Linked DNA regions of Homo sapiens: region 2 is linked to region 1. The links are contacts of gene promoters, found by promoter capture Hi-C in human tissues and cell types (Jung and others, 2019). All regions are on one chromosome and are shown on one strand. The core of a region is centred on a gene start or on the middle of the fragment in contact, and the rest is flanking DNA. Distances in the headings are between cores, read along the strand shown. Region 1 holds the start of GRHL3 (grainyhead like transcription factor 3). Region 2 has its middle 15 kb from the start of MIR378F.

Region 1 (4,994 bases), core at 678-3,177:
GTGGTTGGGCACCCAGGCTCTGCTCTCGGATTAAATCCCAGCTCTAGCTCTACCACTGCCTAGCTCTGCAGCTTGAGTAGTTTACTTCAGTATTCTGTACCTCAGTTTCCTCATCTATAAAATGGGGGTATCAAAAATGTCTATCTCCCAGGGTTGCTGTAAGGATTAGGCGACACAATGTATGCAAAGGCGCACAATGCCCGGTGCCTGTGGTATATGAAGCACCTACTAGGTGCCAGACACTGGAGATTCCACAGTGAGCGACACAAAGTCTTTGCTCTTATGGAATTTACATTCCAGAGGAAGGGGAGAAAGACAATAAACGATTAGAAAAATATCATAGGTCATATTACATTGTATCATAAGTCATAAGGGCTCTGCAGAGAACAAAAAGTAGTGTGATCCAGAGTGATTGAATGTCTACTTTATTAACAAGGGTGACTGAAGAGGGCTGCTCTGAGGAGGTGGCTTTATTAGCAATTATTTACTATTATTTATTAGGGTCCCCTGGGCTTCCCCCAACACAGCCTCCAGGGAGAAACCAATCTCTGAGAGTTCTCAAACCCAGTACCCCCTCTCCAGAGCCCTGACCCCACCCCAAGAGGGCTCCTTTGAATTCTGACTTTACCCTGAAAAACCTCCATAAATTGGCAGGGGTAGCTGAAACCTCACTTGCCGTTCCCAGAGAAGAGAGAGAGGAGTGGGCCAAGTTGAGGTTTCCAGGAAGACACAGCAAAGAGATAATTTGCCAAAAGGGGAAGGGTGGGGGAGGGGAGAATAGAAAGAGAGAGAGGGAAAAAAAGATGCCAAGATCTCTGGCTTAGATTTAATTTCAAACTAATCCTGGAAGAAGCTCTTTAAAAAGCTCTTACATTCTCCTGTTTGTGTTTGTGGATATTCTGGGGTTTACCAAGCTTGTTCTTTATAGTAGACAGCTCACAGCAATTACTCCACAATTACTTCATCTGACAGGCATTGAATTTCTCCCAAGTTCCCAATACAGAACGAAGCACTTGGAGCCTGTGAAATGACCAGCTGGCTGAGGCTTCAGAGGAGCCTTCAACTTTTCTATCCCTTCTGTGCTGACCAGAGGTATGTGGCTTGCCCACACCCCCTTCACACCCAATAAAAGCCTGTTCTCCTTTACTCCCCCACCCCCTGCCACCAACACACACCCCCCAGATTGTAAACTCCTTTAGAACAGTAACCCCTGTTTTTTCTGGCCTCAGTTTCTCCAGAACCCAGAGTAGGGTCTGGCACACAACGGGTGCTCAATGAATGTCTACTGAATTGAGGCCACTGACTTCAGCCCAAGGGGCAGCCAGACTTGGAGTGAGATGACTGCAGATTGGATCTGGGCTGGGACCTCGCTAGCTGTGCCCTTGGGCAAGGCACTTTGCCTCTCTGGCCTCCATTTCCTCCCTCATCTGTAAAATATGTGTTGAAGAGGAAGGGGGAAGCGATAATAAATCTACCACGGTAGGTTACTTTAAGAACCAAAAGAAGTCACTTGAGTAACTGCAAAAGATTATTCAAAAATATTACCTTAAAGGGGAAACTGAAAAAAAGGGAACTTATACAAAGATCTACCTGGGAAAAGTTGCTCTCTCCTTTGAGAATTCCCCAGTGGTACAGAAGGAGGGGGCAAAGAAATTTGGGGGTGGGGATGTTTCTGGGTATCTGGGACAATGACTAGAAACAGGAATCAAGTTTTCCTTTAAGCCAAGTTATCTGTTTGTCCCTGTACTTTTCCTCTAGTTATCTTGCTTCTTTCCAACATTTTCTTCTCCATCCCTCCTCCCTCATCTCCACCCCCCACCCCCTCACCAAGGAAGGAATTGGCCAGCTCCACCCAGCCAGTCCCCCATAGCTCCGCCCTCCTCGGCGGGCTAAGAGTTAACAGCTGCACCTGTTGAGGTATACCTCCAGTCGCCGGCACCTGTACCTGTAGCCAATCAGCGCCAGCGCTGCTGGGAACCTACCTGTCAGCAAAATCTCGACACCCAAACCTCAACATAAATCAAACACTTTCCCGGGCAGAGAATGTCTGTGTCAGGCAAGAATTAGAGACAAGCGGTCAGCAGAGCCTCAGTGCTGATCGTCGGAGCTTGGGAGCAGGAAGATGTCGAATGAACTTGAGTGAGTAAACATCGGTGGATACCTGCCGCTCTCAGAGCGTGGAGGCTGGATGGGGTTTCCTGGAGGGGGAAGAGCGGGGAGGCCGGCACCGGGATTCACAGAGCAATTTGTAAGGGTAAATGAATGGGCTGACGATCTTACTTTGGCGTGTCAAGGCAAGCCCCAGTCTCAAGCTAGAGGTGAGTGTTTCCCTGGGAAAATAGTTTTTCTCATTCTCTTTGCTGAGCAGTTTCGAGCCAGGCAGGGAAACACAAGACTGAAACTGTGAAGGTTTCTGGCACCACTTTTTGATCCTCTGAAGGGGCCTTGGAAATCAGACGACCCCAATCCCATCGAGGCTTTCTATCTTCTTGCCAAAAGGAACTTCTTTAAGGTAGTTCTAAGAGCTGTCTTAGGCAGAGAGTTGGGTTTCTCTAAAGGGACTTGTTTGCTGGGTTGGAACAGTCCCAAGTGGGAAGGTTACAGTGTGGTGGTTAAGCATGTGTACTCTTTGTAGTGGGCTTGACCTAAGTTCAAATCCAGGCTCTGTCCCTGGGTGATCTCAGACAAGACATTCAATTTTTCTGGGCTTCATTTTCCTCATCTGGAAAATGGGTACAAGAATGCTTTGTAGAATTCTGGAAAGAGTTAAGTGTGATAAATGCTGTAAAATGCTTAGCATAAAGCTATGGTCTGAAGATGCGTTCAGTAAAATGTGGTTCCTCTCATTCAGAGGCAGTTCTAAGGCTGGGGAAGATGAGAAGTGATTTTTGGTAGGTCACCTCTTTTGGCTGGGAGGATGCATGTGCCTTCCTGCCCACATCTGAGATTTAAGATCCTGACTGACTGATGCTGATCTTCACCATGATGTCCTTCTTGGGGTCCAGACCTTAGAGAAGGTAGGGTGAGGCTGGGATCTGGGCTGCTTTAGATTGGGTTCAGGGAGCTGGCAGGAGAAGCCAGAATCCTTTAAACACAGGCTCTCCTTTTCCTGCCACCCTCAGAGGTGAGTGGGCAGAGGCAAGGATTGTACCATCTTTTTTCTAACTGCTCCTCAACAGACTTTTAAGAACTTGAAGATCTGTGGGCAGACAGCAGTGCTAGGTCCTGACTGCAGACCGGATTCTATGTTCTAGCTAGCCCTTCAGCTCTTCATGTTCACAGCACAATCACTTGGGTTAACAGGCACATTTCTTTTGAATGAATTTCCCGGGGTTGACAATGTATTGACAATTGGACCGCAATGAGAATAAGAGCAGGAGCATTGGTACTGACACCTGGGTTCAAGTCCCAGCTCTAGCACTTATAGCTGTGTGATGTTGAGCAAGTCCCTTAATCCTCATCTGTAAATAGTGGCCAACAGTAGTATCCACCTCATGGGGTTGTTAGAGGATTTGACAATTTTAGAATAGTGATTGCTTTTAAGGCTGGTGGAGAACACACCAGTAACACCATTGTCATTTCATGTAGAACTAACCAATCAATGAGCATTCCCAAACCTCTTGCTATTTTTCCATACTTTGAACGCGCAAAAAAATCTTGACATGTGTCTCCATCCCACTTAAATTTGCTGGCTAAAACTGCGGAGGCTACAGACAGAATCTATTCATTACTGCACGTTAGGGGGTATGTGTTCTGAAGCTGGGTTACTTGAACAGAAAGGTTTCTTGCTTTTCTCCTCCCTAATGGTTTGGATTTGAAGTCAGATCCGCTGACAGTTGAGGCTTCTCAGTTTGGGGTGGGGTGAGGGAAGCCAGTTGCCTGCTGAGTAATTGCAGGCGGACTCCAAGCCACCATTTGAGATTACAGTGGCAGAGCCTGGGGGCTCAGCTGCCCCTACTGGTAAGGGGAGGGCACCCGGCGCTTGGCTTGCAAGTTCTGAGCTGCTGTTGCTTCTGCGGCCTCGACATTCTCCTAAAAAGTGCCAAGTTAAGAGGACTGGCCATAGCTTACAGCTTGGGCCCTCATGGAATGGCCAACTCTGGCCAGGCCTTGATATAGTGGCAAAAGTGGGACTTGCCTGTCACTCTAAATTCTGCCACTTACCAACAGCAGGATCCTGGTGAATTTGTTTGTCCTCCCTGACCCTCAGTCTGCTCATCTGTCTGTAACACCTACCTGGCAGGAACAACTGTGAGCTCCCAAATGTGGACCAGAGCTCCATCCGCGCCCGCCCGGTGGCCAGGCCCCGGGTGTAAGGCGGCACTTCGAAGGCTGGTCTCTGAGAAGCATGGAGGCCCCGGCGGTGTAGTTAGAAACCAGCTGGAGGTGGCTGGCGGGTGCTGAGCGCCGGGCCTTTCATGTGGTCGCAGCGCTCTGGGTGCCTGGAGCCCGCAGCCCTGGGCAGCCCCGGGCTACCGCAGGGCGCAAGGGATCCTGGGCTGCGGCCGAGGGCGCCGGAAGTCGCCGCCGACCGCCTGGGTCTCGCAGGAAAACAGCCGGCGCCCGCGAGCTGCCCAGCGTCGGGTTTTCCTGAAGGTGCGTCGGGGCCCCCGGGGAGCTGGAGCCGCAGGCGACCTCCCCGGTGACCTGTTGTTCCCCTCTGGAGGGCCGGCCGGCGCTCCAGGCAGGCCCCGTTGACAGCCCAGGAAGGGAGAGTTTCGCCGCAAAGGGGCTTGGCACACAGTAGGTCTAAGGCACCGAGGCAGGAGCGTCCCCCGCGGCCTCGCTCCCTGCTCTCTGGGCCCCACCGCTGCCGCCTGGAGTCTCCCCTCAGCCTCGCAGAGACGCGACTCGGTTGGGGGAAGGGGACTAGAACCGTCGCAGTCCTGACCGCGGCCGCCGCCGCCGTTCTATCTGATCTCCAGGAGCGCCGGCTCCAGACTGCCTGGAGCGCTGAAAGAGTTAATCAGGAACGCCTCCCCGCTGTGGTTTTG
Region 2 (4,994 bases), core at 1,857-4,356, 370 kb before region 1:
CCCAAAGGGTTGGGATTACAGGCATGAACCACCGTGCCTGGCGGAGTCTTAATTTCTTAGTCACCTATGTCACATAAAATTTGTATTAAATAGATTTATTATGCTTCTCTGTTGTTCTATGTTCTCTCTTTTCTTTCTTTTTTTTTTTTTTTTTTTTTTTTATTAGACAGAGTCTTACTCTGTCGCCCAGGCCTGACTACAGTGATGCAATCTTGGCTCACTGCAACCTCTGCCGCCCAGGTTCAAGCGATTCTCCTGTCTCAGCTTCCTGAGTAGCTGGGATTACAGGTGCCTTCCACCGCACCCGGCTAATTTTTGTATTTTCAGTAGAGACGGGGTTTCACCATCTTGGCCAGGCTGATCTTGAACTCTTGACCTCATGATCCACCCGTCTTGGCCTCCCAAAGTGCTGGGATTACAGGCGTGAGCCACCGTGCCTGGCCTATCTGTTCTTTCTTATGGGCTCTCAGCCGTGAATCCTGCGATGCGTAAGGGAAAGATCATCTTCTCTCCCTTACAGATGCCTAATTAATTACGTGAGGCCATGCCTTTTTTATACATGCATTTTTTCAACAGACACAGAGAAGTTTGAATAGGCTGCATCCTGTCAGTCAAGGGAATAGTTTGGCAAACAGGCAGCCATAATGGGATTTCCTACCGGGTTTCCAGGAAGGAAAGTCCCTGTGTATAGAGCCTGTAACTCTTATGCGTCCAGATCCTTGAAAAGGAAGGAAGAAGGGAGGGCTTGAAGTGTCAACTTTGCCAGGGTCTTACCAGATAAGGGCTGCCAAAAGGAGAACCCTGAGCCACAGTATTTGGTGGCAATTGTGGTCCTTGTATGTGGTCAATGCCTGCTCCAGGATCCTTCTAGTGGAGATAGCTGTCACAGAACTATTAGATACCATAGTTGATCTACATTTCATTATATTAGATTTTAAGGACATACAAGCAAATATATTACCCCTGAGATCAGGCAAGAGAGGCCCTTGCTCTGGGCTCCACAACCCCTTGCTCTGGGGTTAGAGAACCCCATGTCACAAGCATACATCAAATTAATTTATTAAATAAGATAAAAGTGAAATATTAGTCAGGGCACGGTGGCTAACGCCTGTAATCCCAGCACTTTGGGAGGCCGAGGCGGGCGGATCACCTCAGGTTGGGAGTTCAAGACCACCCTGACCAACATGGAGAAACCCTGCCTCTACTAAAAATACAAAATTAGCCGGGCATGGTGGTGCATGCCTGTAATCCCAGCTACTTGGGAGGCTAAGGCAGGAGAATCGCTTGAACCTGGGAGGCAGAGGTTGTGGTGAGACGAGATTGAGCCATTGCACTCTAGCATGGGCAAAAAGAGTGAAACTCCATCTCAAAAAAAAAAAAAAAAGAAAAGGAAATATTAGAATCAAATTACAAACAATAACTGTTAATGACACAGACAATTATCATTCTATCTTGAAATAAATGAACACAAGAATGAAAGTTCCTAGTCTAGCTGGGTGCGGTGGCTCACACCTGTAAATCCCAGCACTTTGGGAGGCCAAGGCGGGCAGATCACCTGAGGTCAGGAGTTCAAGATCAGCCTGGTCAACATGGTGAAAACCCGTCTCCACTAAAAATAAAAAAAAATAAAATAAATAAAAAATTAGCTGGGCTTGGTGGCTCACGCCCGTAATTCCAGCTACTCAGGAGGCTGAGGCAGAAGAATCGCTTGAACCCTGAAGGCGGAGGTTGCAGTGAGCCAAGATCATGTCACTGCACTCCAGCCTGGGTGACAGAGTGAGACTCTGTCTGGAAAAAAGAAAAAAATAAAGAAAGAAACTTGCAAGTCTAAATAAACTGAAATCTTCCAGCCACGGGTTCATAGGGGTCAAAGGACTGTGTGGCTACACGGGTTACTGCACATGACAAGAACATATGGGCATGTCTGCTACTCAGTGCTGGCACCACACAACCTGTAACGCTTGACAGCCATTCTTAGGACTAACACTGTTCACACCCCAGGGAAATGCTTCTGCACATCTTTTGCTCCATGACCTCGAAACAAAAGGCAACTGCATCCAAATGACATAAAAGGTTGGGGTTAATTTAGTTGTGAATGTAAATTTGTCAAGGTAGAAAGATAGAACATCTTTTATTATTTTAAATATTAGCTTTCTTATTTAAATATTTAGACAAATGACTATGTTGAAACAAAATCCATGGTATAAAGAAATACCTTTATTTTACTTTTTTTACTTCTTCTTTTTTTTTTTTTAGACAGGGTCTTGCTCTGTTGCTCAGGCTGAAGTGCAGTGGCACCATCAGAGCTCACGGCAGCCTCAACCTCCCAGGCTCAAGTGAATTTCCCATCTCAGCCTCCTGAGTAGCTAGGACTATAGGTGTGCACCACCATGCTTGGCTAAATTTTTTTTTTTTTAGACGGAGTTTTGTTCTTGTGGCCCAGGCTGGAGTGCAATAGTGTGACCTCGGCTCATGGCAACCTCTACCTCCTGGGTTCAAGTGATTCTCCTGCCTCAGCCTCCTGAGTAGCTGAGATTACAGGCATGAGCCACCATGCCTGGCTAATTTTGTATTTTTAGTAGAGATTGGGTTTCTCCACGTCGGTCAGGCTGGTCTCGAACTCCCGACCTTAGGTGATCTACCCCCCCACCCTCGGCCTCACAAAGTGCTGGGATTGCAGGTGTGAGCCACTGAGCCCGGCCGCCTGGCTAATTTTTTATTTTTTGTAAAGACAGGGTTTGACTATGTTGCCCAGGCTGGTCTTGAACTCCTGGACTCAAGCAATCCTCTTGCCTCAGGCTCCCAATGTTCTGGGATTACAAGTGTGAGCCACCACTCTCGGCCTACTTCTTCTTCTTCCTCATTTGTAAATACACATAACGTAAAATTTACCAACTTAACCATTTATAAATGTACAGTTTAATGAAATTAAGTACATTCGTATTCTTGTGCAACCATCATCACCATCCATCTCCAGGACTCTTTTTATCCTGCAAAACTGAAATTCTGTACCCATTAAATAATAACTCCTCATTTCCTCTCCTCTCAGCCCCTGCAACCACTGAAGTTCTACTTTCTGTCTCTTTAAATTTGACTACTCAAGAAACCTCATGTAAGTGGAATCATACAGTATTTGTCATTTGTAATTGGCTTATTTCACTTAGCATAATGTCCTTAAGGTTCATTTATGTTGTATCATGTGTCAAGATTTCCTAACTTTTTAAGACTGAATAATACTCCATTGTAAGTATATTATACATTTTGCTTATCCATTCATCCATGGATGGACACTTGGGTTGCTTCCATGCTTTAGCTATTGTGAATAATGCTTTGAACATGGGTATGCAATTATCTGAGACCCTGTTTTCCGATTCCATACCCAGAAGTGGAATCGCTAGCTCATATGGTAATTCTGTTTTTAAGTTTTTGAGGAACTGCCATACTATTTTCCACAGCAATCGTACCAATTTACATCCCCACCAATACTGCACAGAAATTGCAATTTTTCCACATCCTTGCCGATACTTGTTATTTTCTGTTTTTTGTTTTGGATAGTAGCATCCTAATGGGTGTTGGGTGGTACCTCATTGTGGTTTTGATTTACATTTCCCTCATGATTAGTGTTATTGAGCATCTTTTCATGTGCTTATTGGCATTTGTATATCTTCTTTGGATAAACGTCCATTCAAGCCCTTTGCACTTTTCTTTATTTTTTTTAAAGAGACAGAGTCTTGCTTTTTCACCCTGGCTGGAGTGCAGCGCAATGATAATAGCTCACCGCAACCTTGAACTCCTGGGCTCAAGCGATCCTCCCATGTCAGCCTCTCAAGTAGTTGGGAATACAGGCATGCATACCACATCTAGCTAACTTTTAATTTTTTTATAGAGATGGGGTTCTCACTGCGTTGCCAGGGCTGGTCTTGAACTCCTAGGTTTAAGTGATCCTTCTATCTCAGCCTCCCAAAGTGCTGGGATTACAGGCATAAGCCACTACACCCAGCTCTTTGCCCATTTTTGAATTAGTTTATTTCTTTTGTTGAGTTTTAGGAGCTATTTATAAATTCTGGATATTACTCCCTTATCAGATATATGATTTGCAAATGTTTTCTCTCATTCCATAATTTTCCTCTTCCCTCTGTTTGATAATGTCCTTTTTTTTTTTGAGACAAAGTCTCACTCAGTTGCCCAAGCTGGAGTGCAGTGGTGTGATCTTGGCTCACTACAACCTCTGCCTCCCGGATTCAAGCGATTCTCCTGCCTCAGCCTCCCAAGTATCTGGGACTACAGGTTTGTGCCACAATGCCCGGCCAATTTTTGTATTTTTAGTAGAGATGCGGTTTCATTATGTTGGCAAGGCTGGTCTCGGACTCCTGACCTCATGATCCGTCTGCCTTGTTCTCCCAAAGTGCGGGATTACAGGCGTGAGCCACTTTGCCCGGCTGATAGTGTTCTTTGATGCACAAAAGTTTTTGATTTTCATGTAGTCCCATTTGTCCATTTTTTCTTTTGTTACCTGTGCCTTTGGTGCTATAATCCAAGAAATTATTGCCAAATCCAATGTCATGAAGCTTTTGCCCTATGTTTTCTTTTAAGTTTTATAGTTTTATCTCTTACATTTAGGTCTTTGATCCATTTTGAGTTAATTTTCACATATGATGTTAGGTAAGGGTCTAACTTCATTCTTTGGTATTTTACATCCAGTTTTCCTAGCCCCATTTGTTGAAAAGATTGTCCTTTCTCCATTGAATGATTTTGGCATCTTTGACAAAAATTATTATACCATGTATGTGAGGGCTTATTTCTGGGCTCTTTATTCTGTGCTATTGGTCTATATGTCTGTCTTTATGCCAGTACCATACTATTTTAATTACTGTAGCTTTGTAGTGAGTTTTGAAATCAGGAAATGTGGGATGTCCAATTTTGGTCTTCTTTTTAAAGGTTGATTTGGCTATTCAAGGTCTCTTGAAATTCCTTATGAATTTTAGGGTGGATTT

What was found. The method cuts DNA at HindIII sites, captures the fragments that hold promoters and counts their contacts. A contact is called where the count stands out against the background at its distance.
Region 2: a fragment that was not itself captured here is called in contact with the fragment with the promoter of GRHL3 in region 1 in 1 of the 25 tissues and cell types used here (mesenchymal stem cells).

What each region holds. Positions count from the first base shown.
Region 1 is chr1:24,317,430-24,322,423 of GRCh38, forward strand. GRHL3 (grainyhead like transcription factor 3) reads left to right here and starts at 1,928. Exons shown (of 16, transcript NM_198173.3): 1 at 1,928-2,139. The coding sequence starts at 2,123. It overlaps GRHL3-AS1 (GRHL3 antisense RNA 1), which reads right to left and starts at 4,562. Exons shown (of 2, transcript NR_183722.1): 1 at 4,237-4,562. RefSeq lists a silencer at 4,461-4,600 and an enhancer at 4,668-4,994. The HindIII fragment of the contact is 14,571 bases long and covers 430-4,994 here.
Region 2 is chr1:23,941,301-23,946,294 of GRCh38, forward strand. No RefSeq gene overlaps it. Among named protein-coding and RNA genes, the nearest start is that of MIR378F, 15 kb to the left of the region's middle. The HindIII fragment of the contact is 8,780 bases long and covers 1-4,994 here.